2 separate regions of the Homo sapiens genome follow, and region 2 is linked to region 1. The links are contacts of gene promoters, found by promoter capture Hi-C in human tissues and cell types (Jung and others, 2019). All regions are on one chromosome and are shown on one strand. Each heading gives the region's core, a stretch centred on a gene start or on the middle of the fragment in contact. The rest is flanking DNA. Distances are from core to core; before and after follow the strand shown. Region 1 holds the start of APOD (apolipoprotein D). Region 2 overlaps MUC4 (mucin 4, cell surface associated).

The links. The method cuts DNA at HindIII sites, captures the fragments that hold promoters and counts their contacts. A contact is called where the count stands out against the background at its distance.
Region 2: a fragment that was not itself captured here is called in contact with the fragment with the promoter of APOD in region 1 in 3 of the 25 tissues and cell types used here (lymphoblastoid cells, mesenchymal stem cells and spleen).

Annotation. Positions count from the first base shown.
Region 1 is chr3:195,581,447-195,586,898 of GRCh38, forward strand. APOD (apolipoprotein D) reads right to left here and starts at 2,494. Exons shown (of 5, transcript NM_001647.4): 1 at 2,432-2,494. RefSeq lists an enhancer at 1,945-2,114. The HindIII fragment of the contact is 4,834 bases long and covers 2,014-5,452 here.
Region 2 is chr3:195,796,288-195,801,739 of GRCh38, forward strand. All of the region lies in intron 1 of MUC4 (mucin 4, cell surface associated), which reads right to left. Among named protein-coding and RNA genes, the nearest start is that of MUC4, 13 kb to the right of the region's middle. The HindIII fragment of the contact is 4,037 bases long and covers 1,073-5,109 here.

The DNA of each region.
Region 1 (5,452 bases), core at 1,244-3,743:
CCAGAGGATCAAACCTCAAAGACTGGCCACACACTATGCACATTCCACAAGGTCCCCACACTGGATAGGACCTTAGAGGTCATCTTTCTAGCTCTACTTCCAAGGTGTACAGATGGGGAAGCTGGGGCCTGGAAGGGGCAGAGAGCTGGGACTCGAGCTCCATCTCCCCCTCTCCTGTCTGCAGCACCCCGAATCTGCTTCTTCTGTGCACCGCCATAGGGCCTTTCAATAACCCCCCACCTCTGTGACCTGATGAGTCTCACCACCACATGACACTGCAACAAAAGTCAGTTCTACATCTTACTCTGACAAAATGCTCTCTTGTGAGCTGAAACAGATTCTTTACCTCAGTAGGAGGATTTCAGAACAACCCCTTTGACTGACCCTCTTCCAAAGATGCCTCTTGGTTACATTAGTTTTATTCCTGTGGTTAAAACTCCTTGTGATGCCAGGTGCGGTGGCTCAAGCCTGTAATCCCATGGGAGGCCGAGGCAGGTGGAGCACCTGAGGTTGGGAGTTCAAGACCAGCCTGACCAACATGGAGAAACCCTATCTCTACTAAAAATAAAAAAATTAGCTGGGCATGGTGGTGCATGCCTGTAATCCCATGCTGCCTGTAATTACATGCATGCCTGTAATCGGGAGGCTGAGGCAGGAGAATTGCTTGAACCCGGGAGGTGGAGGTTGTGGTGAGCTGAGATTGCATCATTGCACTCCAGCCTGGGCAACAAGAGCAAAACTCCGTCTCAAAACAAGCAAACAAACAACAACAACAAAAAAACTCCTTGTGAGAGAAAGGGCGGACAGCATCCATTATAGTTTTCAATGTCCTTTCATTCTAATTTACTCATTACTTATTGAGCATGTTATTAATGTGTACTTAAGACTTTGGGTAACATATGGATTATATACGACATATATTTTTGCATCTTCTTCTGATATCAATAGGAAGATTGTTCTTATGAGGAGTTTAAATACTTTACAAAATAAGTATAATTTAAATATTATTTTTGGCCGGGCATGATGGCTAATGCCTGTAATCCCAACACTTTGGGAGGCCGAGGTGGGCAGATCACTTGAGGTTAGGAGTTTGAGACCAGCCTGGCCAACATGGCGAAACCCCGTCTCTACTAAAAATACAAAAAATTAGCCAGGTGTGGTGGCAAGTACCTGTAATCACAGCTACTCGGGAGGCTGATGCAGGATAATTGCTTGAACATGGGAGGCAGAGGTTGCAGTAAGCCAAGATCACACCATTGCACTCTAGCTTGGGCAACAGAGCAAAAACTCCATCTCAAAAAAACAAAACAAAAACAAACAAACAAAAAATACAAAAATTAGCTGGGCATGGTGGTGCAGTCCTGTAATCCCAGCTACTTGGGAGGCTGAGGCACAAGAATGGCTTGAACCTGGGAGGCGGAGGCTGTAGTGAGCCGAGATCGCGCCACTGCACTCCAGCCTGGGTGACAGAGTGAGACTCCGTCTCAAAAAAAAAAAAAAAGAAATATGATTTTTAACAGAATATGAGGTAATTAAAAAGCAATCCAACTAAGGTGACAGTGCATCCACCTTGGGCCTGGCACTAGCTGGAAATCACTGCTCCACTTGCATTAAGCTTACCCGTGGAGAAGCCCTGGTCCCAGGATTTTAAGGGTGCTATGCGCTCAGTCTCCACAGCACCTCCTCTGGAGGCGACCTCTGCTGACACTCTCTTCATACCAACGAGGTGAATTTGCCCGGGTTACTTCCTGGTAAACTACGAAGCCACAGTGTAAGCCTAGGCCTGGGGACAGGCTAGAATGTAAGCCTAGGTCTCCCACAAGCCCGCGCTCTTAGTGCCTGGGGACACAGCCCCTGACCTCAAAGATCTGCAGAACGTGAAGGACTAGATTTTGAAATTTCACCTCATAAAATAAAATAGGTTCCAATAAGTCATTAGGTCTCAAAGACTCATTTAGCCATTAAATATAACAAGACACGTATCTCCCAAACACAATATTTTATGCCATATTGTCAAATGCATTTTCTAGTCACACCATTAATTCCAGTTTCCAGATTATTTTACTGCGATGCACCGTTGGACAGCTTGCTGAGAATTCACCTAGGACGGTGTTTGTGCATGGAAACACCTCGTTGTCCAGTTTGGAGGGGTAAGCAAAAGACGCTGGGATGAGTTCACACTGGGTTTGGTTTTATCTTAGGCATGTTGCTAGTGTATCTGAACCTCAGCTTTATCACTGGAAAAATGGCTCTGATGATACCTACCTTGTACATTTGTTTGAGGAAAAATGAGAACAAGTCTAAAGCTACCGGCACAAGCTCTCAATCAGTGGTAGTTATATGTAGCTGAAATGGGGCAATGGAGAGTCTAGACTGTTTCTATTTTAGACATTATTATCATAAATGAAAAGCTTAAAACTACAGTACATACCTTTTCTTTCAAGATGAAGGCAGTTTCCAGATGCAGAATCAGCCGATTTGAGATGCCTGTCTTGGTGACTGGCCTCTCCCAAGCTATTTTATAAGCTTCTTCAGGTCTCTGATGTTTACTTTTCATGCATGCCACGCCCGCCGCCCCCATCCAGTCAGGAGGGTTGGCCTAAAAGCTTAGTCTGTATCGAAACACAAAGATGGGATGTTGTGTCCATCCTCCTCCCCCGATTTCCTTCACAGCTGCTCCCTGAAGAAGAAATGAGATATTGTTTTCGCGCGCGCGTGTGTGTGTGTGTGTGTGTGTGTGGGTATGTGTGCGAGAGAGAGAGAGAGTATGTGTGAGAGAAAGATAAAGTATATTTTCATCCAAAACATTTTTTTTTTTGCTATGTGGATTTTCTAATTTAATTTTTTTGGTCAGAATGCACTTTTAAGTTCCAGCAGGACGTGTTGCAACATGTTTTCAAACATCTGGTATTTATTTTTCATTTTTGTGTAAATGAAAAATCAACAAGCTCATTTCCTGAAGTGGAACATGGAGTTCCTGACTCCACTAATGGGAGTCAGGTAATGGCGCGAGGGTTATGAGTCAAAGCTGGCTTTCTCCAGGATCCTGGGCAGCCCCCTAACTTCTCTGAGCCACAGTCTCCTCGTTGTAAGTAGGGGCTGTCATTCTTTCTCCACCAGAGCCAGACGTGTAGGGGAGATACCAGTTCTCTAACAACTGGGGCTAAAAGTTGAGAATGCAGAAGACATCTTCTGTCGCTCTGTTCTCTGTCCCTTTTATGACCCTTGCAGCGAGAAGTTCAAGACAGTCTGTCACTGCTTGGGGGTGGGGGCCGGGGTGGTGGGGAGTGTGGACTTAAACCCAGGGGTGCTTTTGGTCCAGCCTTATCTCTCCTGGTGGAATGAACAACTTTGACTCTTGTGAGTGAGATTCTATGTCTTTGTGATAGGCAGGAGGTATGTTTAGAGACATTTAGATAAGGCAGTGCCTTCGTAGTAGACTTAGACTCCTAAATGAAATTCATTCTAAAATATGTAAGCAACAGAGATACATTTACAGCACTGAGTCTATAAACATGAAAACAACAACACAGATCCGTAACATCCCAAACGTTGTGAGCGCTTTCTTTAAGATGTTCTTTGCCTTTTCAGAAACATAAGAAATTCCTACTACCACCCAGGGCCTGCCTCTCGCTGACCTCCTGTGCTGCCCTCCCCTAAGAGCTCTGTGTAGCTCCCTTCCCCACTCCAGGTCCCTGATCAGATGACACTTTTCCCTAAAAAGCTTCCTGACCTTTCAAAAATAGCACTCTTGTCACTGTCCCTTTCCCTGCTTCATTATATCTTTACCTGAAATTCTCTCCTTTATTTATACATTATCCTGCTTAGTATGTTTTCCCCAGGAGGATAGGAGCTTGAGGCGTGCCAGGAGTTTGTCTCTTTGACTCTGTGTTGTGCCCCAGTGGCTAAGCACATACTAAGTGCTCAGTAAATACTTATAAATTAAATGGATGCTATCCAAAGAACTTAATGAGTTTCTAAGATATACAAAAGGCCCCAGAGGTAATATTCACGCGATTTTGATTTCAATTGTATTTCTGGAGAAGCACTAGCCTGTATGTTTCTGTCTTCTTCACCTGTATCACATTTGCCACCAAGAATTGCCTGTCATTGAAGAAATACACAGTTAGCCTCTTTTCAGCCTATTACAAAAAATTCTCTCTCCTCTAAGCAGTTGCACAGTTTTCCACAAAGCACTGTTGCCTAAGTTTCCAAATATGTATGTTGGAGTTGGAGATATCTATGTATTTTAGCCCTCAGCACTGAAGTCGGCAACCATGGAGCTGAAGGTCCAGGTCTAGGAGTCACAGCGGGAGAAAAGCCACACGATCTTCCTAGGTCTCAGTTCATTTTTTCTGTAAATATTGGTAAGTGATATATTCCTTAGGGAAATCCTCTCTTCACATGTTTCTGGAATGTATAGCCAGTAACAAATTCTTAAGCAGCATAAAACAAATCAGACCTATCTTCTAAGCAAGTGTTTATTTTTAAGTCCCAAAATAAATACACATTTGTTCAAAACAATTAAAATAGCACCAAAATGCAGGACTCAGGAAATGTAAGCACCTCATAATCCCACACCTCAGAGATAAGCATTATTTTGTTTGTAATTATTCCTCTAGATCTTTCTATACAGATCCCTATGTAATAATAACAATATTCAATGTTCTGAAACTTTTTTTTTTTTTTGAGACCGACCTTCACTCACTCTGTCACCCAGGCTGGAGTGCAGTGGTGCAATCTTGGTTCACTGCAACCTCAGCCTCCCTGGTTCAAGTGATTCTCCTGCCTCTGCCTCCCGAGTAGCTGGGATTACAGGCGCCCGCCACCACACCCAAGTGATTTTTGTATTTTTAGTAGAGACGGAGTTTCACCATGTTGGCCAGACTGGTCTCAAACTCCTGACCTCAGGTGATCCACCCGCCTCGGCCTCCCAAAGTGTTGGGATTACAGGCATGAGCCACCGCCACTGCGCCCAGCCAAGAAACTTGTTTTTTAATGTAACAATGTATCTATCTTTCTATATCAGTACACATAGATCTACCTCATTCTTTCACCTGCTGCAAAATCTTGCTTTTACCTGAGAGCACATTTCTTTTTTTCCTTTCTTTTTTTTTTTTTGAGACAGAATCTCGCTCTCGCCCAGGCTGGAGTGGTGCAGTGGCCGGATCTCGGCTCACTGCAAACTCTGCCTCCCAGGTTCATGCCATTCTCCTGCCTCAGCCTCCTGAGTAGCTGGGACTACGGGGGCCTGCCACCATGCCCGGCTAATTTTTTTTTTTTTTTAGTAGAGACGGGGTTTCACCGTGTTATCCAGGATGGTCTCGATCTCCTGACCTCGTGATCTGCCCGCCTCGGCCTCCCAAAGTGCTGGATTACAGGCGACAGCGCATTTCTTGAAGAGACAGTCTGTGGTCTGTGGTTTTTCCGGAAAGCAGTTCTTTGTTGGGTG
Region 2 (5,452 bases), core at 1,841-4,340, 220 kb after region 1:
GTCCTGGCTGGTCTCAAACTCCTGACCTCAGGTGATCTACCCACCTCGGCATCCCAAAGTGCTGGGATTACAGGCATGAGCCACCTCGCCCGGCCACTATAAACTATTTTAAATTGAATCAGCAGTTTAAAAAATATAATCTAGGCCGGGTGCGGTGGCTCACGCCTGTAATCCTAACACGTTGGGAGGGTGAGGCAGGCGGATCATGAGGTCAGGAGATTGAGACCATCCTGGCTAACACGGTGAAAAAAAAATTAGCTGGGCATGGTGGCAGGCGCCTGTAGTCCCAGCTACTCTGGAGGCTGAGGCAGGAGAACGGCGTGAACCTGGGAGGCAGAGGTTGCAGTGAGCGGAGATCATGCCATTGCACTCCAGCCTGGGTGACAAGGTGAGACTCCGTCTCAAAAAAAAATATGTATATATAATCTATCCACCCCACAAAAAAATGCAGGCTAAGATGAGTTTACAGGCAAATCAGACATTCAAGGAACAGGTAATTTCAATTCTATACAAACATATTCAGAGTTTGGAACAGGAGGAAATGATCTACTAATAATTTTATAAGGTTGGAAACCAAAGATAGGATAAGAAAGACAAACTATAGATTAATAAGTCCCAGTAATAATACATGGAAGCATCGTAAATAAAATATTAGCAAGCCAAAGTGCATCATGGCCGGGCGCGGCGGCTCACGCCTGTAACCCCAACACTTTGGCAGGCCGAGGCAGGCGGATCACTTGAGGCCGGGAGTTCCAGACCAGCCTGGCCAACCTAGAGAAACCCCGTCTCTGGTAAAAATACAAAAAATTTGTATTTTTTTGGATTACAGGTGTGTGCTGGGCTTGGTGGCACACACCTGTAATCCCAGCTACTCAGGAGGCTGAGGCACGAGAATTGCTTGAACCCAGGAGGCAGAGATTGCAGTGAGCCGAGATTGTGCCACTGCACTCCAGCCTGGTGACAGAGCAGGACTCTATCTTAAATAAATAAATAAATAAATAAATATTTTAAAAGTACATCATGATCAAGCTGAGTTTAAATCAGAAATGCAAGATAAAGACAATGCTTTCTTAATGTAAATCACCATATAAACAGAACGGAGGGGAGACACAATCACCACAGCAGATACAGGAAAGTTATTTGATAAAAGTCAACACTTACTCCTGTTAAAACTCCTAGCAAACTAAAAAGAGACGTTAACTCTTTTAACCTGATAAACAATGTCAATTATAACCCCGTGTAAACATTATACTTAAAACAATAGAAACGTTTCTGTAAAATCAGGAATAAAAACAAGATGCCAACAATCACTGCTTCTAATCAACATTAGGTTGAAGGTTTTAGCTGGTGAAATAAGACGAGAAAATTAAACAAAAAGTATGAGAGTACAGAAATGTGATTTTGGGTATGGAAGGGATGAAACAAGCCTATGGTTATTTGCAGATAACATAATTGTTTACATAGAAACTTCCCAAACATATACATTATTAGCAAAGTTCTATATCCATAATCAAAATTTTAAAAATAATTGCATTCCAGCTGGGTGTGGTGATTCATGCCTGAATCCCAGTGCTTTGAGAGGCTGAGGCAGGAGGAACACTTGAGGCCAGGAGTTCAAGACCAGCCTGGGTAACATAGCAAGATCCTGTCTCTACAGAAATAAAAAATAAAAAAATAAAAAATTAGCTGGGCATAGTAGCACACACATATAGTTCCAGCTACTCAGAAGTTGAGGGGGGAGGATCACTTGAGCCCAAGAGTTCGAGGCTGCAGTGAGCTATGATCACCCCACTGTACTCCAGCCTGCATGACAGAGGGAGACTCTGTCTCAAAAAGAGATTTAAAAACAAAATAAAACTGCATTCCTATATATCAGTGAAAGAGAAAATATTTTTAAGACTATAGTGTTTATGATGGTGACCAAAAAAAGTACATAAAAATAAATCTAACAAAAGATGTGCTTAATCTTTATGGACAAAATTGTACAACTGCATTGAAATATGCCAAAGAAAACACACATACTGGTTACGTGCATTTGGGAACATTTATAGTTGAAAGATCAAAACCCATAATCTTGCTACCAGACAATGCTTCCTTCCAGGATGTTTTTATGCTTTAAAAAATATATAGTTTAGGCCAGGCGTGGTGGCTCACACCTGTAATCCCAGCGCTTTGTGAGGCTGAGGTGGGCGGATCATGAGGTCAGGAGATCGAGACCATCCTGGCTAACAGGGTGAACCCCCGTCTCTACTAAAAATACAAAAAAATTAGCCGGGCGTGGTGGCGGGCGCCTGTAGTCCCAGCTACTCGGGAGGCTGAGGCAGGAGAATGGCGTGAACCCGGGAGGCGGAGCTTGCAGTGAGCCGAGATTGCACCACTGCACTCCTGCCTGGGTGACAGAGTGAGACTCCGTCTCAAAAAAAAAATTAAAAATTAAAAAATATATATGTATAGTTTAACTTATTCAGTATACATAATTTTGTATCCTGCCTTTTTAGCCATACCTGATATGAGCATTTCTTCAAGATACTAGCTTCGTAAACATAGCCTGAGAAGACGCACATCTTTTATGTCTTGGATGGCAGTTCCTTGCTTCCCCCTTTTGGAGTCCTACAAGAGCTGGCTCAGGGGGACTGGGAGAGCTCAGCTCCATAGTAAAATCTAGGGTGCTGTATAAAAACTCCCCCTGCTGAGCTCTGGTGGCCTCCTTCCTAACAAAGCCACTCCCCCAACTGGAAGCGTTGTTACCCTTCCCATTTTCTGTTAAACAGGAGCAGGTCTCTCTCCTGTACCACATCCTGCTGTGTGTCCACCATACCCACCTCTCTGTGCAATGAGAGCTCGGGGGTCATGTGGACTCCACTGCTCCCTGCTCGCAATTTCTCCTTAATACATCTTACTTTATGCCCGTTCTGTGTGTTGCTAGTATGTATGTGTGACACTGTGTGTGTGTGTGTGTGTGTGTGTGTGTGTGACACTGTGTGTGTGTGTCCCTGCCCTTATGGAACATTGGACATAGCCTTTAAACATTTTTTTTTCCAGATGGAGTTTCACTCTTGTTGCCCAGGCTGGAGTGCAACGGCACGATTTCGGCCCACTGCAACCTCCACCTCCGTGATTCTCCTGCTTCAGCCTCCCAAGTAGCTGGGATTACAGGCATGTGCCACCATGCCAGGCTAATTTTTTGTATTTTTAGTGGAGACTGGGTTTCACCATGTTGGCCAGGCTGGTCTCAAACTCTTGACCTCAGGTGATCCACTCACCTCAGCCTCCCAAAGTGCTGGGATTACAGGCGTGAGCCACCGCGCCCGGCCTAAACACTAAATAATAAGCCATCATAGAGAAAGCTCATATTGTTAACTTACTGTTGGACAATTAGGATATTTCCAATGTATTGCTTATTTTAAATAAAGCCCTGATGACTATCTTCGTGTCTAATGTTTTGTTTACATTATTTCAGCTCATCTCCTTAACATAAATTTCTATCAGTGGAATTGCTGGTTTATGCCGTTATAAAATTTTTCATGTTATTAATACAGACTGCCAAATTTCTTTGCAGAAAGCTTATGCCAATTTACAGACCTGTTGGCAGTGTGCAAGAGTGTGCCTGTTTCCCCATATCCCTAGCCTGTGAACAAAGGGGCATGATCCAGGACAGGCCCCATCCCTCACCTGCTGCTCTTTGCTTCACAGCATCGACTGAAAATCGGCCAGGTGCGGTGCCTCACACCTGTAATCCCAGCACTTTGGGAGGTCGAAGCGGGTGGATCATTTGAGGTCAGGAGTTCAAGACCAGCCTGGCCAACATGATGAAACCCCATCTCTACTAAAAATACAAAAATTACCCAGGCATGGTGGCGTGCACCTGTAATCCCAGCTACTCAGGAGGCTGAGGCAGGAGAATCTCTCAAACCTGGGAGGTGGAGGTTGCAGTGAGCCGAGATCGCGCCACTGCACTCCAGCCTGGGCGACAGAGCGGGACTCCATCTCAAAAAAAAAAAAAATTCTTGCTAAACAGGGCTGTGTCCTGGTAGTCCTCCTTTTAAATCTTTATTTAGAGAACTTGCTCATCTTGAGCCAAGTTGATTAGAGTTTCCTGCTGCCGCAAATAGGAGGGCAAGTGAGTCACTGCATGTGGAGGACATAGTTTTATTGTCTAGGGGAGAAGGCGCTGTCAAAATCTCTCAATCTGTTGGGCTTGTGAGGAGGAAGAGATTAGCATTCGTTACGACAAAACTACAGTTATTGCATTTGTCTTTCACCATCATTTAAACAATACCTCTGAAGCCACTCCTGCAATAGATTGATTATTCAGCTGTTTAGGAAAACAATTTGCAGATAACTCAATCTACTAAGCTTGAGTAGGTTATTTGTAGGTAAGAAATCCTGTGTTCAAGTATGACCTATCTTTACAAAGAAGAAAAAGAAAGAAATCCTAGTGGATGGAGAGACTATGGAGAATGATTTTTGGTAAGAAAATGGTTCTCAGCTGGGCATGGTAGCTCATGCCTAAAATCCCAGCACGGACAGGCAGAGGCGGGAGGATTCCTTGAGGCCAGGAGTTTGAGACCAGCCTGGGCAATAGCTCAAGACCCCTTCTCTGAAAAAAAAAAAAAAAAAAAAAGTGGTTCTCAAAAGGCAGAGGGTGCATCAGCATTTTAACACATGTCCAGAGTGATTCTGATGCAGGTGGTCCGTGGACCCCACGTTCAGAAACACTTCCCTTAAAATAAAATGATAGTATCCACTCTTAACAATGTTTGTAAGCCAAAACCATCTCGCTGAAGTTGTCAGGCAGAGAAATTTGAAGCCTTGATCAAGTTTTATTCTAAAAAATACTCATAGCCTTGTTCTTGCTGCTCAAGTGTTGGCCAGAATGAACTGACCTTGGCTCTCACCAGGATGCAAGTCAGGCCCTTCAGGTTCCGTCAGATTGTCAGACAACTGAAACTTGTTCTCACTCTGGCCAAACGCATAAACTTGGGGAGCAGAGAGCTGGGAGATTTGCGCCTAAAGAGTTGATATTGGAGAGAAACAGGTCTCTCCTCTCTCTTCTCTCCCCGTGACCCTCCATTTTCTACTTCACTGAAAGAACCAAAGCCGTGCCCTTCATCTCCTTCAATGCCCAGAGCCTTCTCCGCACCCTCCCCGGGGCCCCGGGGCTCCCTCCTGCCCGGATGGCTCACTGCTCTGCCTCTGTGTCTCCGACGTTCTTTCTGCCTTTCTCCTTCTCTCCTGCCTGTGAGCATGTTCAGGTGTCTGTTGGCCTAAAACAAGTCTGTCATCCGTCTGTGTCCTCCTCGTCCCTCCAGCAGCATGAAAGCCGGGCTTCCCCTGCCGCCTCTTCTTTACCACGCACTGCTCGCTCTGCCCCCACCTCACTCACTTCGCTCAAGCCGTTTTCCTCAGAGCTACCAGAATCTCCTTCCCAACAGCAAAAACGATTTTCTCC